Linked DNA regions of Homo sapiens: region 1 is linked to region 2. The links are contacts of gene promoters, found by promoter capture Hi-C in blood cells and fetal thymus (Javierre and others, 2016). All regions are on one chromosome and are shown on one strand. Each heading gives the region's core, a stretch centred on a gene start or on the middle of the fragment in contact. The rest is flanking DNA. Distances are from core to core; before and after follow the strand shown. Region 1 overlaps NRG2 (neuregulin 2). Region 2 holds the start of NRG2 (neuregulin 2).

Region 1 (7,607 bases), core at 3,957-6,456, 190 kb before region 2:
CCTCCAACATGCCCATTTTCTAGGACTGTTCAAATTCAGGACTGGTGACATGCAATAAGTGGTTTGCGCCACCTGGTGGTCCTGGGAAGTGGCCTCGGGCTCAGGGACTTCTGGGGGTTGCCCCTTGAGGACGGTGTCTCTTGCGCCTTCATCCTCTCATTCAATGAGGGCCAACTGTGTGCTGCACGCTGGGCGGGGTGATGGGGATACGGTGGTGGGAGGAAGTTTGGCTGCCTGTCCTCGTGGGGCTCACAGTTTCGTGAGGAGAAGAACAGGCAGTTACCATTACCACTTGGGCCTCTGGGAGGGGCTGGAAAGAGAAGCCAAAAAATGACCTGGAAGAGAAAAGAAAGAACTGGGAAAGTGGGGATGAAGCCTCTGACTTGCGAAGCTGCCTGAATGTCGTCCTACGTGTTCCAGCGACGGGGCGGTGGTAGGGAAGTAGCTTGACAGGACTGCGACTCTTCCTGAAAGGCCACTGGGAAGGCTTCCCCAGGCAGAGGTTTGAGAGGCAGAGTGGAGAAGGGGCCTCTCTGGCCACATGTGTTCCCGGGTCCTAATCATACCTGTGAAATGAATGGGTGGATGACAGGTGAGGAAAGAACTCTGTTAGGTTCTGGCCTTGGACTCTCCGCACATATGGCAGGTACTGTAGGATTCAAAGCATATAATGAAGGTACCCGATGCTCATGCAAAGATCGGTGAGTTCACCAAGAGGTCATTCAGAATCAACCGAGGGCCACATAGAGATTGGTGGGTTCATTGGGTGGCTTCTGACTCTAAAATTTAGAAAGCAACAGCAACCTAGAGCCCCCAGAAAGGTCACACGAGGACAATAAGCTGGACCACACAAAGGTCAATGGGTTCCCCAAGAGTTCATATGGAGTTAATTTGGGATCCTACAGAAGCCACAAGTCACAGAGAAGAATAACTGGCTCTCAGAGAATTTTAAAGTCAACTACGAAACCAGAGACAGCAGAGGGGCCTGGATGAGATCAACAGAAGGGGGCCGGGAGGGGCCAGTGAGTTGCAGGTTTATGCAGGATTGAGTTCATTATTTTCCTTTTTAAAATTTTTTGTAGCAGATACTTTTTCCCAGCACCCCCACAATAAATACAATAACTTTAATTTGTTCTTTATTTTTTTCCATCGACTCCCTCTCATCTAGTTTTTGTCACTCTGGCTGTGTGATACAAGGATGCAAGGCACAGGATATTGTCATCACCACCATCAAATCAGCCATGTAATAGGCATCTATCACGTGCCAGCATCAGCACTGGGTACTTTATAATCTCCACAGCAACCTTTTGGAATAGGTATTTACATCACCCATTTCCCAGCAAGGAAACTGTGGCCTAGAGACGTCACACAGCTAGGCGGCACAGAGCTGGAATTTGAACTTACGCCCTGTTGATGCCAAAGCCCTCTCAACCCGCAGCCTCTCTGTCCCTCCCACCTATAGGTCTCTGACTACACACATCCTAGTGGGATTCACACACACACACACACACACACACACACGTGTAGCCGAGTGTGCATGCCAACCACCTCAGCTGTTTGGGTGGAAGACGTCCGTGTGTCTGGCTGGAACCGAATAGTTCCGGGTGCTGGGCACTGGTTTACTAAATTAGTTGATGAGGGGAAAGGCTTTTGAACCTGGGCCTCCATCTGCCTTCTCCATACTGAAATCATGTACTCTCTCTCAGGTCTGCGGGTTTAGACAGGTCCTGGCTCTGAGGGGGTATAAAGTTGGGGAAAGAGCAACACCCTGTGGGCTTATGAACTGCAGCAGCTGTGGTCCTGGCAGCTGAGGGTACCACTGTTATGCCACTTTGCATGTTCAGACTTTGCCTGTGACGTGCCTCAGGGTCCAAGGGTCATCCTGCCTTGGCTGTGCTATTACCAACCCCACAACCCATCCCTCCTCAACCACCTAGGCCGGCAACTGTTGCCTCAGTCCGGCCCATAGATCCAGGGCAGGAACTGGGCCAGAGTTCCAACGCTGAGTTTGAAGCAGAGCAATTTGTGTCAGTCCCTTGGCCAGGTTCCCCAGCAGCCAGTGGGGACACCTTGTAAATATTCTTGGAAGCGGGAGGAGGGCTGGAGTCTGTCCTGTGAGCTGGGGCCGGAGAGACCGGAGACAGGGTCACTTCCTTCCAGGGACTGCCCTGGCCCCCTCCAACCTCCAGGCCAGCATCATCCACATCCACCATGGGACTTCGTGCTCTGAGTTCCCTCCTCATCTGAGGCTAGGCACACACAGTCAAACAGGAGTTATTTCTGATTTTATTTATAATATAAAAATGTTCAAGTGTCAACAGTCAGGTGTTCAGACATTTCAGGACAGGATTCCCATCTGTTTCTGTTTGGGATTTTTTTTTTTTTTAAACAATTACCTTTTTGACAAATTAGCAGTGGACCCAGTTTTTGGGGGTGGGAGGGCAGGACTGGAGACGAGTGGATGTCATAGGTGGGTTGGGGGCTAGGAGGCAGCCTGTGAGAAGGAAATGGTGTTACTTTATTGCTAAAAGGGGAATACACTGTCGAGTGGCTCTTCTCGGTCCCAGCGTGACCATGCATCCAATCTAAAGAATCTGAAATGCAAAGGACATGCAGGTGTAAAATAGAAAAGACGACCTGTAAACGAAGGTGCTGCAGAGGACGGAGGGGCGTCCTGGAGGCTGTGGGGGACAGGAGCCGCCAACATTGGGCCCCTGGCAGAGCTGCCACCTCCCTGGGCTCAGGCTCTTGGGGAAACGTTTCTCTGCCCCCCCTCCTTTAACAGCTGTGAGTAGCCAGGGCTTCCCCATTCGGGTAGCTGTGTCTTTATCTCCCCCTGGAAGTTACCCCAGCTCCAGCTCCAAGCCTAGGGTCCTGGCCCTCTCCTCCCAGGGGTCGGGAACTTCAGCTCTTGCCTGGGAGCAAAGCTACTTCCGTCCTCAGTTCTTCCTTAGGGCCAACCCCCCACCGCCCCCCACCCTCGCCCCCAACAGAACCCGCACCTCTTCTCTCCCAGCTGTCACTCTCAGCACCCCACAACCCAGACCTGTCCCCCGGAGCCCCAGATGAGCATACAGCAAAAGGCACCACAAAATAGGTTTCTATTAAAGAGTCAAAAAATTGGCCCATCTCTCTTTTTTTTTTGTTGTTTCTTTTTTTTTTCCGAAGCTGTAAATCAGGATGTTACATATAAATAGTTTCCCTATAAAAACGCCTTTGCCGTTAGCTAGTATTATAAGACAATTTTTGCTAAAATGAAAATAAAACATTTTGTTATACTTTTTTCCTTTTATAGAAAATAAAAATATTTTTATTTCTTTTTTCCTCCTTTCTCTCCAGTAGGCGGTCTCTGGTCTCCTTAAAGATAGTGGGGCGGGCGGGGCGGAGGGGCGCGCGGCGGGGCCCTAGAGTGGCGCCGAGTCCTGCTTGGCCCGCGGGGGCGGCCCGCGGCTGTGTCTGCTGCTGGCCCGCGTGCTGTGGCTGTCCAGTGAGTAGTAAGTCCTGCTGTCGGCCGCCGGGCACAGTGGCGGCGAGTCCGAGCGCAGCGCGTCGTGCGCCCCACGCAGGCCCAGGAAAGGTGTGCTCTCGGCCGCCAGCGCCCCGTCCGCGTCGTCCGCGTCGTCGTCCGACGCCGAGGCTGAGCCGCCGCCCGAGCCGCTGCTCAGCGACAGCGAGTCCCTCGCCGCCCGTGCGCGCTGCGCCGCCAGCCCGTTGAGGCGCGAGCGGCGCCAGCGCCGGGGCCCCGCCGACGTCCTGCGGGACGCACCGCGCGCGCGCGGCCGCGGCGGCGGCGGGGGCGCGCACTCCTGCGTGGTCTCGTACTCGTCGTCCTCGGGGATGCGGAAGGGGCTGGCAGGCAGGCTGCCCAGGCTGCCGCCGAGCGCGCAGGTCCCGCGCCGCGGTCCGGGCCCCGCCGCGGGGTAATAGTAGCTGTCATAGCTGCGCTGCATGTCTGCGCCGGGCCCGGGCCCGGGCCCGGGTCCGGGTCCCGGGCCGGGGGGCGCCGGGTGCCGCAGTAACGGCTGCTGCTCGGCCAGGCGGTAACTGATGGGCGCCGCCGGCGGCAGCGACACGGCGTGCGCCGAGTTGGGGGACGTGATCTCGAAAGTTGGCACCTGCGTGGCCAGCGAGTAGTGGAAGTCCACGGGCGAGAGGCGCGCGGGCGTGGTCAGGGCCGACACGTACCTGCGGGGAGAGGCAGAGGCATGGGCCAGGGCCAGGCCGGGCCGGCGCGGGGGAGGGGGGGTTGGGGGTGGGGTAGGGTGGGAGGGGCGGACCCAGACTTGCCTTAACCTTGCCCGAGACCCCGCCTGCAAGAATGACGGCAGCAACCCTCAGTGGCCTTATGCAATTTCCTAAACCTCTCCGAGCCTCGGTTTCCTTATCTGTTACGCGGGCATAACCATGGTGTTGATTCCATAGCTCTGTTGGGATGATTCCAGATTGTATCAGTGGGATGTGTTAGCCCTGTGCCTGACCCTGGTAAGCTTTCATGAATGGTCACTTGCTGTGGGAATGCTCACCGTCAGGGGGTCAGGCTCACGCTGGGGTACATGTTCCATCTGGTTTAATACCGCAGCTCTGTAAGACCCTTCCGCCAGTCCCATTCTACACGCAGGAAAGTAACACTCAGAACGTTTAATTCTACACGCAGGAAAGTAACACTCAGAACGTTTAAGTGACTTATTCAGGATTTACACAGCCAAGAAGTGGCAGAGCTGGGATGTGACTTGAGGCTAGTCAGGAACCAGGACTCATACTGCCCAATTCCAGAAGCCATTAGTCTCCATTCAGATACCCCTGTGACCTGGCCTCACTGCCCCACAGGGACAATTCCTCCCATGCCCTGATGGCTTCAGTGAGGGAAATATTCCTCCTTACAGTGAAGTCAAAACCTGCTTCAGGGGAGTACCAAGATCCCATGAGGTGTCTCTGCTTGTGGCTACAGACCCATCCCCACACCACCAGCTCCTTCAGAAGTCTGGCCTTGCTAATATCTCCCAGGCTGGATCCCGGGTACCTGTCCCCTTTTGTGCTCCACATCCCCCTTGTAAGCCCATCAGTCTTCTGCCCCACCGTTGTCACCTCAGGACAGGGGCCACCCACCTCCACGCTTCCCTTCCAAACTGCACAGCTGGGCATCTCACTGCTCTCTGGAACCAGCCTGGAGTCCCCATTATCATTTTTTCTGAATCGCCTGACTCCTCCCTCTTCCCTTTCCCACCGGCACATCTGATTAACCACCAAGTCCTACCCATTCCCTTCTCCGGAAGCACACTCTCCACCCCATCCTGGGCCCGACTGTTCACATGTGGTCATCTGGGTCCACCCCAGGGTCTCTCCTCCTTCACTCTATGCAGTTCCCAGAGCAATCTTGTAAAGTCACAGCTCTGCTGAAGCCGGTCTTCCTGTTTACCCACCCAGGGTCAGTCTGTCTGGCCTCAGCTTGCCTGTTCAGGCCCAGCTCCTCTGCTCCCTACAGCCCACTCTGTTCCAGGCACCTCACTCATCAGCCCTGTTCTTAAGTGCCTCTGTTGGAACAGCTCAAGTTGTTCCCCGTGCCTAGAATGCTTTTCTTCCTGCTCTCCTGCCTCTCCCCTTCCTACCACCCATTAAGGAGTCTCATTGCTGTGGTTACGATTCATAAATAGCTACACCTAGTGAGCATCAGCTCCATGCCAGGGATGAGACAAAGAGCTCTGTGCACATGATCTCAGGTGGCCTTCACTTGAACCATGCATAGTAGCTTTTGTTCTCCCTGTTCTACAGCTGAGGGAACAAGGTACAGAGGTGATCAGTCTGCCCCAAATCACACAGGTGGTGGAGCTGGGCTTAGAAAATCTGGCTACTTCCCAGAGCCTACAGTCAGACTGGGTCTCTCTGCCCTGGTGTGGTGTCATGTTTAGCACCTTCCATAGGCTGCTGTAAGCTTCCTTGGTTTGTTTCTGTGGCTAGGAGCTCCTCAGGAGCAGGAACCTGGCAGGCCACTTCTGGATTCCCAGCCAGGCCTGCCCAGCACAGGGCCTGGCATGGAGTAGGCTGAGTTGAGAGCAAGGGAATATCTGCTCCTCTCCCTGCTCCCTGGTGTGGAGTTTTTAGTACCACTCATCTTTCCCTGCTCACCTCCTACAGACCCCACTTGCTGAGGGCCACTCAGGGCTGAGCAAGGTGGCAGGGGTGCTGGCCCTTGACTTCTGGCTTGGAGTCAGGGAAGAAAGGGCGTTTCCTGGTTCTTACTACATCCACTGCTTAGGAAGCCAACAAGGCCTTGAACCCTGGGGTCTTGTTGCTGCTACTGCCAAGGCCTGCCATCATTCTTGGCTCACGTCCATCTTGTGCTGGTCAGTGTCCTCAAAGGCAACCTCCCCTCCCACTCTGCAGTTTACTCCTTCTTCGTGTCTCCTTCTGTTCCTGCTGGGACATGGAACTTCTAGCATGTATCCTGGTTTGTCCAGAACAGCCCCTGTTTGTTCTTTTTTTTTTTTTCTTTTTGTAAAGGGAGTCTTGCTCTGTTGCTGAGGTTGGAGTGCAGTGGCGCCATCTCAGCTCACTGCAACCTCCGCCTCCCAGGTGAAGGGATGCTCTTGCCTCAGCCTCCCAAGTAGCTGTGATTACAGGCATGTGCCACCATGCCTGGCTAATTTTTGTATTTTTAGTAAAGATGGGGGTTTCACCATGTTGGCCAGACTAGTCTCAAACTCCTGACCTCAGGTGATCCATCCGCCTTGGCCTCCCAAGTGCTGGGATTACAGGTGTGAGCCACCGCGCCCGGCTGCCTGTTTGTTCTTGATGTTCCAGTGTAACTATTAATAATGTCCTTTTTCTAGTGTGAAAAGTGTCCTGGGAGGACAATTAAATTAGATGGTCACTGTCCACCAGGGTCCACTGGCCCAACTCTAGTCCCAGTCTGTCATTAACATGCCGATGGCTCTGAGCAGGCCATTTCACCTTTTCTAGGACCTTGTTTTCCCATATGAAAAATGGAGATGAGGCTCTTTGGAGTGTTTCTGAGGGGCCCTAAGGGTCAGCCTTGGGCCAGTGGTGCCAGCCCTCTGGCTAAGCGGGGAATAGGTCAGGGGGTAGGAACTGACCTCTCGCTGTGTGGGGAGTCGCGAAGGGAGTCCACGGAATCGTGATAGGGTGGCGCGGTGGCCCTGCGCCGCTCCTCCAGGTTGTAGGCTGCTGCCCGCCTTGCCCGGGCCTCCACACATGCTGGGCTGTTGCATTTGCTGGTACCCACTGATGATAGCATGATCCCCGACTGGGAGTCAGAAGTCAGGCTCTCAGAACGTTCCAGGCTCCACGTGTGGCTCTCGTGTCTGGGAAGGCCAGATGGGGTGAGACGAGGGGTCAGGAAGGGGCAGGGCGGCCCAGCAGGTGTGGTCCCATGGACCTCCCTGGCTCTTCTTCCACCTCGAGCTCCCTTAGCTCAATGCCCTTCTCCACTCTGGGGTGATGTGTATTGTTGCAAATGCCCAACCCCAATATTGGAAGAAGGAGGGCTGGGGTCCCATAGATGGGTGAGCTGTAATGTGCAGAGACCCATTTCTTTCCTTCCTGCAACCAGCCTCCCCCCAGCCTTACCTTAGACCCCCTGTCTGGGACCT
Region 2 (7,050 bases), core at 266-2,765:
AAAACAGTAGCAGAAAAAGTCCAACTCTGCCTGCGCCAGCGGTGTGGATGAGCAGAGCAACGAGCCCAGGAGAGGAAGGAGGGGGCGGGGGCGACCATTCCCTAGGAGAACTTGTAAGCGGAGGCCTTCACAGCCTGGGAGTCTGCCCAGCTGCTCCCGCAGACCCTGCCAGCCTGGGCACGGCAGGCCCGCGGCAGCAGGGCAGGCAAGGCCTCCGAGGGTCACTCCTGACTCACTGAGCCTCAGGCCAGCACCGCCAGGACCTCTCCGTTTTTCCTTCCGCTACTGGGCTATGATGGCAGCTTTCCAGCCCCACATGCCATACATCAGCCGCAGATCCCCGCTGGCACAGGCCAGCGCCTCCCTCCGCCCCCCACCCCTGGCACACTTTGAGCCTGATCCTTCTTCTCTCCAACCCCAACCCCCTCACCCACCCGTGCCAGGCGCCCTGCCCAGGGGCGGCCCCACCCCCCCAGCGCCCGGACGCTGCCAGGCCCGGGCACCTGCAGCACCTCCCCGCCCCACCCCCATTCTCCACCACCTCGCCCCTCCCCCCTTTCTCCAGCAAAGGGAGGGGGCGACTCACCGCAGTCAGTGCACAGGATCTTGCCCACCTCTTTCTTGAGATTTTTGCCGTTGGTATCGAGGGGGGCAAAGGCCGTCTTAAAGACTAAGGGCTGTTCCGTGGGCTCCAGGAAAAAGATGTAGCGCTGGTTCCTTTCGAGCGGCACACAGGAGCCCACGCTGATCACCTGCTCGCGCTGCAGCCCCCCGCTCCGGAGCGGCCACTTGTCCAGCACCTTTACCAACGCCACCCGACCCGAGGCGGGCGGCTCTCGGGTGCTGTTGGAGCTGGAGCCGCCGGCTGGGACCAGCCCCTGTACCTTGCCCTCCACCACCACGGGTGCCTTGTACGCCTGGTCCTGCACTGACTTGAGGCTGGGCGAGTAGCAGGCGAGCGACACACCGAAGAGCAGCATGGAGAAGCCGGGGGCCGGGTCGCGCCTCATGCCGCCGGCGGCTGCGGCTCGCGAACGGGCGGCGGCTCTCCGGGCTGCGGGGCTGCGGGGCTGCGGCTGTTGCTGCGGCCGCGGCTCTGGGGGCGCAGCGGGACGAGAGATGCTGCTGTTGTTGCTGCTGCTCCTGCTGCTGCTGCCGCTCTCGCTGCTGCTGCTGCTGCTGCTGCTGCTCCTCTCGCTGCTGCTGCTGCTGCTGTCGCTGTAGCTGCTGCACCGACCCTTCTCCAGTGGCGGCGGCGGCAGCGCTGAGCAGCAAACCTGCCGCATCTGGCCAGGCCATTTGGGGGGCTCCGCCGCTCAGCCGCCGCCGCCTTGGGAGGGGAAACAGAGCCCGCTGGAAAACCGGAAACAGCGTAACGTTAGCGCCTCTTAGCCCTCCACCGGCAGCCCGGGGAGGTGGCCCAGCTAGGGCAGGGGGCAGGCGGCAAGCGGGCCGCGATGCGCAGCGCGGCGCAGCGCAGCGCTCCCACCCTGTGCGCCAGGACCTGGAGGAGGATGCGGAGGATGGGACGCCCGCCCACTTGCTCTCTCGCGCCCCCTCTGCCCCCGGACCGAGTAGGGAGCGCGGCTTCTGCAGGGGAAGCTTGGGACTGCACTGCTTTAGTGCCCGCCTTCAGCCCGCAGGGGCGCGGGAGGAATCGTGCCACCCTTTGCTCCCGGGATTTATCGGCATGACAGTGGGGGTGGTGCGTGAGGAGAAGGCGAAGAAGAGATAACGGGCTCCTGGCACCATCCTATGAACGTGGTAATGGGACGCAGGGCGTGCCCCCTGCCTTTGGCCAGCAGCTGTAGGAGCCAGAGAGGTTGCCATGGCCAGGGTGGCCGGCCAGCCTCTCGCCTCTTGGGCTGTCCTCTTTCCTAGGAGGACCCTGGAGCCCAGCCCCTAAATGATACCACGTGCTCGGTCCTGCCACCGCCTGGTGAACGCTGGATATTCGACTTGAGGTGGGGGAGAATCCCAGCCCCGTCATTTTGGAAAGAGTTGGGCCACAAGGTGTCTTGTCTTAGCATTGAGGACACCCAAGCAGAGGTGGTAGCTGAGAAAGGGCCCAGTCCCCAACACTCTGGGCTTTCTTCAGCGGCCACGTGGGGATCTGGCTGAGCACTGTACAACCTCATCTTTTAAAAATCTGATCTCTAAGAAAGGTGGGGGGCTTCTTGGGAGCCAACAGAGAGCCAGAGCCTGTCAGGGCCAGAGGCTGCTCCATAAAAAAGGTTTTTTTTGTTTTGTTTTGTTTTGTTTCCAAGGCTGATGCTTGCAAGAGGCAGAAGAGTTTGCTGCACTGGAGCCAGCATCTGATTTAAAACACACACACACACACACACACACACACACAGGTCCATAATCCATTAGCCTATCAATGAGGGTCCAGGGAGTTTTCAACACCCAGCTTTTAACCTTGAAGGATGTGGAGCTCAGGAATGCCAGTGAGCTCTTGGGGAATTTTATACCGCACTGGGCTCCACAGGAAACTGGTCCAAGGATGAGTGACTTAGGCTAGGACTGCTATTCTGGAAAGGAAGTAGAGAGAGCTACACCTTTCCTCCTAGCTAAGAGACATCTTAAACTCAATACATCCAAAGCCAACATCATTATTTCTTCCACTTCACTCCAAATCCCCTATAATTATTAATGCCACTGTTTTATTCTTTTAGACTACATCAATCCATTACAATAAGTCCCTTCATCTCATCTTTTATTCTTCCTCATCCAATTAATCACCAAGGCCTTTGGGTCTCTCTTTTAAAATAATCTCCAATTTATCTACTTCCACTCCAACTCTGCTGCAAATACCTTAAGTCCAAGCCCTCATCATCTCTCACCTGGACAACTTCTAAGCCTTCTAACTGGTCTCCACTCCTTTCACCTCATCACCTATCTCCAGTCCTACCAATGCCAGAGTGATCCTTCTAAAAATAAAATGTAAGTACAATTTGGCCATGCTACTGCTCTCAGAAGTTAAGTTCAAACTCCTCAGCAAGGCTCTTCATGGGCTCCCTTTGCCTAGCCAGCTTCATATCCTGAGAGCCAACCCCCCACTCTAGCAATCCTCAGCACTTCATGCTCTTTCTTGGTGTGCTTCTGCACATGATGTCTCTTGTGTCCAGAAAGCCTCACCTCCACCTTGACCACATGGAAAACTTATTTTCCCAAGGCCCAGCTCAGCATTATACCGCATCCCCCTTCCTACATATCCACCTCTACTCCCACCAACACATACATGATGGAATTAATCCCTTCCTCCTCTGTATTGCCATGAGCTTCACACATAGTATTACTGTTGGGATACTGGCCCATACCGTATTTCAAGCAGCCATTTAATGGGTCTGCATCTCCCATCAGGCCAGGCACGTTAATGTCAGGGACTATATATATCCTATTCATCTTTGGATTCCTATTACCTCCAACACAATGCCTGGCATAAAATAAGGATTAGCAAATCTCCAGTGAAAGAAGGAGAGAAGGAAGAAAATAACTGAAAATCGGCACGCTTAAAGGCATCAAGCCAATCTTCTTGGCTCCTTCAGTGTCCCCCATTTCATTTTCATAGATCACAGACCTCATAAATCACAAAACATCACCATAAGGAAGATAGCGACATCCACTCTTTCATTTTACAATGAAAGAAAAAGTCCCAGAGGGGATAGGGGACTTACTCAACATTTCACACAGCCAGGACTGAACTCAGTCTTCTGTTCCTGAGACCAGGGTCATAGTGAAGAGCTTGTGCTCTGGAGCCCAGCAGAGCTGGGTTTTAAAGCAACTCTGTGACTTACCAACTTTGGGATGAGTCTATTTCACTCTCTAGGCCTTAGTTTCCTTATCAGTATGAAGGAGAAAATAATAGGGTCTACTTCGTAAAGCTGTTTTTTGCTCAGTATGTACTTTCAATAAATATTCAATTGAATGGCTCCTCTGTGCCAAGCACTGAGGCACTGTATGTTACTGGATGTACTGTGGTGAACCAAACTGTTCAATAGTACATGTCTGTGCTCTCAAAGCTCATACTCTGACTGGGAAGACAACAGTAAATAAGTACACAAATGGGTAACTAATTACTTGTATTGCTGAGTGTCCTGAAGGAAATAAACAGGATGAAATGCTAGAGAATAATGGAAAGGGGAGAGGATAGGTCTACTTGGATAAGGGAAGGCTTCTCTGAGGAGATAACATTTAAGCTGAGACTAGAAGGATGATGAGGATGTGGATTATGTGAGATAATATGTAAAGTGCTTAGAACAATGTCTGGTGCACAGTAAGGGCCAAAATTAAAGTTGAAGATTACTAATATTTTACTTATACTGGTGGTTCCCAATCTAAGAGCTGAGAATCTCTAAGTGGTATTTATTTTCTGTATATTAAAAATATTCACTAGGATTTTCTGTATATTAAAAAATGCGGCTGGGTGCAGTGGCTCATGCCTGTAATCTTAGCACTTTGGTAGGCTGAGTGGGGTGGATCACTTGAGGTCAGGAGTTCAAGACTAACCTGGCCAACATGGTGAAACCCCATCTTTACTACTACCAAAAAAAAAATTAGCCAGGCGTGGTGGCGCTCCCCTATAATCCCAGCTACTTGGGAGGCTGACACAGGAGAAATGCTAGAACCCAGGAGGCAGAGGTTGCAGTGAGCCTCATGACACTACACTCCAGCCTGGGCAACAGAGCACTGTCTCAAAAAAAAAAAAAAAAAAAAGGCGATACAATTTTTCAACAGCACATGTCATGAAGAATAAAAATATTATTTTCCCCTCTCTCTCTTATTTTTTTTTTTTTGAGACAGAGTTTTGGTCTTGTTGCCCATGCTGGAGTGCAATGGTGTGATCTTGGCTCACTGCAACCTCCACCTCCCGGGTTCAAGTGATTATCCTGCCTCAGCCTCCCAAGTAGCTGGGATTACAGGTGCCTGCCACCACGCCTGGCTAATTTTTTGTATTTTTAGTAGAGACGGGGTTTCTCCATGTTGGTCAGGCTGGTCTTGAACTCCCGACCTCAGGTGATCTGCCTGCCTTGGCCTCCCAAAGTGCTGGGATTATAGGTGTGAGCCATTGAGCCCGGCCTCTTTTTTTTTTTTTTTTTTTTCTTTGAGACAGAGTCTCCGTCCCCTAGGCTGGAGTGCGGTGGTGTGATCTCAGCTCACTGCAACTTCTGCCTCCCAGGTTTAAGCAATTCTCCTGCCTCAGCCTCCCGAGTAGCTGGGACTACAGGCACGCACTACCACGCCTGGCTAATTTTTGTATTTTTAGTAGAGACTGGGTTTCGCCACGTTGGCCAGAGCAGCCTCGAACTCCTGACTTCAGGTGATCTGCCTGCCTCAGCCTCCCAAAGTGCCGGGATTACAGGCGTGAGCCACGACGCCCGGACTCTCTTTTTCTTTTGAGACACGATCTGGCTCTGTTGCCCAGGCTGGAGTGCAGTGGGGCCATCATGGCTCACTGCAGCCTCGACCTCCTGGGTTCAAGTGATCCTCCTAAGTAGCTGGGACTACGGGCACATGCCACCACACCCAGCTAGTTTTCTTTTCTTTTCTTTTCTTTTCTTTATTATTACTTTTTTTTTTTTTGGTAGAGATAGGGCCTTGCCCAGACTGGTCTCCAACTCCTGGGCTCAAGCAATCCTCCTGCCTTGGCCTCCCAAAGTGCTGGGATTACAGGTGTGAACCACCACACCTGCTCCCCACCTTTTTTTTTCAACATATCCATGTTAAAGTACAACAAAATATAACAAGATATTGCTAAGTGAAAAAAAGCAAGATGAAGAAGAGTGGTAAGATGCTACCATTTTGTCTTTTTTTAAGATGAAATATGTAAATGTTTGTAGTGCAAATTTACCTTTGAAAAGATACAGCAGAAGTTGAAACAATAGGAGGCTCTGGAGAAGGGCAGTGTGTGAATGAGGGATGGGGTGAAAGAAGGATATTTTCATGGTATTTCCTTTTGTACCTCGTGAATTTTATATCAAGTTCATGTACTAGCTATTCAAAAAAATTTTAAGAGGGGATCCTCTAATTTGTTAATGTTGCTGAATTTTTATCATGTGTTTTTCTCAAAGTCTACTTAAAGTAGAACTACTATTATATAGGATTCTATAAACAGAAAGAATATTCTATATAATGGGAACTACTATTATATGGGGTAAAACTCTTTTTACCTTAAAATGGGATTCTTATGCTAAAAAGCATAGGGAATTATTTTGCTATAATTATATCCTGTTCAGATAAACTTAGAATGCCGAGGTAAATTTTGAGACTCCAGCAGATTACCAGAATTCCTGCAGCCATAGAAAGTGGAGAGTTAGGCAGAGTTTTCTAAAGGGAAGAAAGGGCCAGGTGCAGTGGCTCATGCCTGTAATCCCAACTCTTAGGGAGACAGAGGTGGGAGGGTAGCTTGACCCCAGGAGTTCAAGACCTGCCTGGACAATATAGCGAGACCCCATTCTCCACAAAAAGGAAAAAAAAAAAAAGATAAAGGGGAGGAAGGTGCCTGTCCAGATTTCCTCAAGGTGTGATGTATGTGAGGATAAGCTTCCGAAATTGGCCTCAGCCATTTAGGGTATTTGGTTTCCTAGAAGGACAGCCCAATTTTATACTGGCTTTTTCCTGAAGTTCACAGTGAATTAGTATGTATGACTTAGAAAATAAGACCTAGTATTCCAAACCTGCTAACTCTGCACTGTAATTCAATAACTGACAATAAAAATAATAATAGGCATCATCTATTAATGGCTTGTTGTTGGAAGCTTTGTGTTTATTATTTCTGTGTCTTATCTACTTTGAATTTTTCAAATTGAAAATTCATAGTGGTTTAATAACTTGCCCAAATGACAGACACAGTTGAGACTGTAATCCAAGCTTGCTCATTGCCAAAGCACTTCCTCACGCACAGCACCGTCACAGCTCTCTGTAAGAGACAGTCTTCTCTTAGCATCACTTTCTTTCTTCCTTTTTTTTTTTTTAACAGAGTCTCACTTCTTCAGTCTCGGCTCACTGCAACCTCTGCTTCCCAGGTTCAAGCAATTCTGCCTCAGCCTC

The links. Contacts are between HindIII fragments. The CHiCAGO score rates a contact against its expected background, and 5 or more counts as called.
Region 1: a contact is called between a fragment that was not itself captured here and the fragment with the promoter of NRG2 in region 2, in 1 of 17 cell types (M1 macrophages). The highest score is 5.1, in M1 macrophages.

The regions. Positions count from the first base shown.
Region 1 is chr5:139,844,513-139,852,119 of GRCh38, forward strand. NRG2 (neuregulin 2) reads right to left here. Exons shown (of 10, transcript NM_004883.3): 9 at 7,092-7,319; 10 at 2,269-4,185. The coding sequence ends at 3,405. Among named protein-coding and RNA genes, the nearest start is that of PSD2, 53 kb to the left of the region's middle. RefSeq lists silencers at 3,417-3,606, 3,737-4,156, 4,207-4,266. The HindIII fragment of the contact is 1,442 bases long and covers 4,486-5,927 here.
Region 2 is chr5:140,041,784-140,048,833 of GRCh38, forward strand. It overlaps NRG2 (neuregulin 2), which reads right to left and starts at 1,516. Exons shown (of 10, transcript NM_004883.3): 1 at 587-1,516. The coding sequence starts at 1,286. RefSeq lists silencers at 949-1,158, 1,319-1,658 and an enhancer at 981-1,650. The HindIII fragment of the contact is 2,328 bases long and covers 1-1,600 here.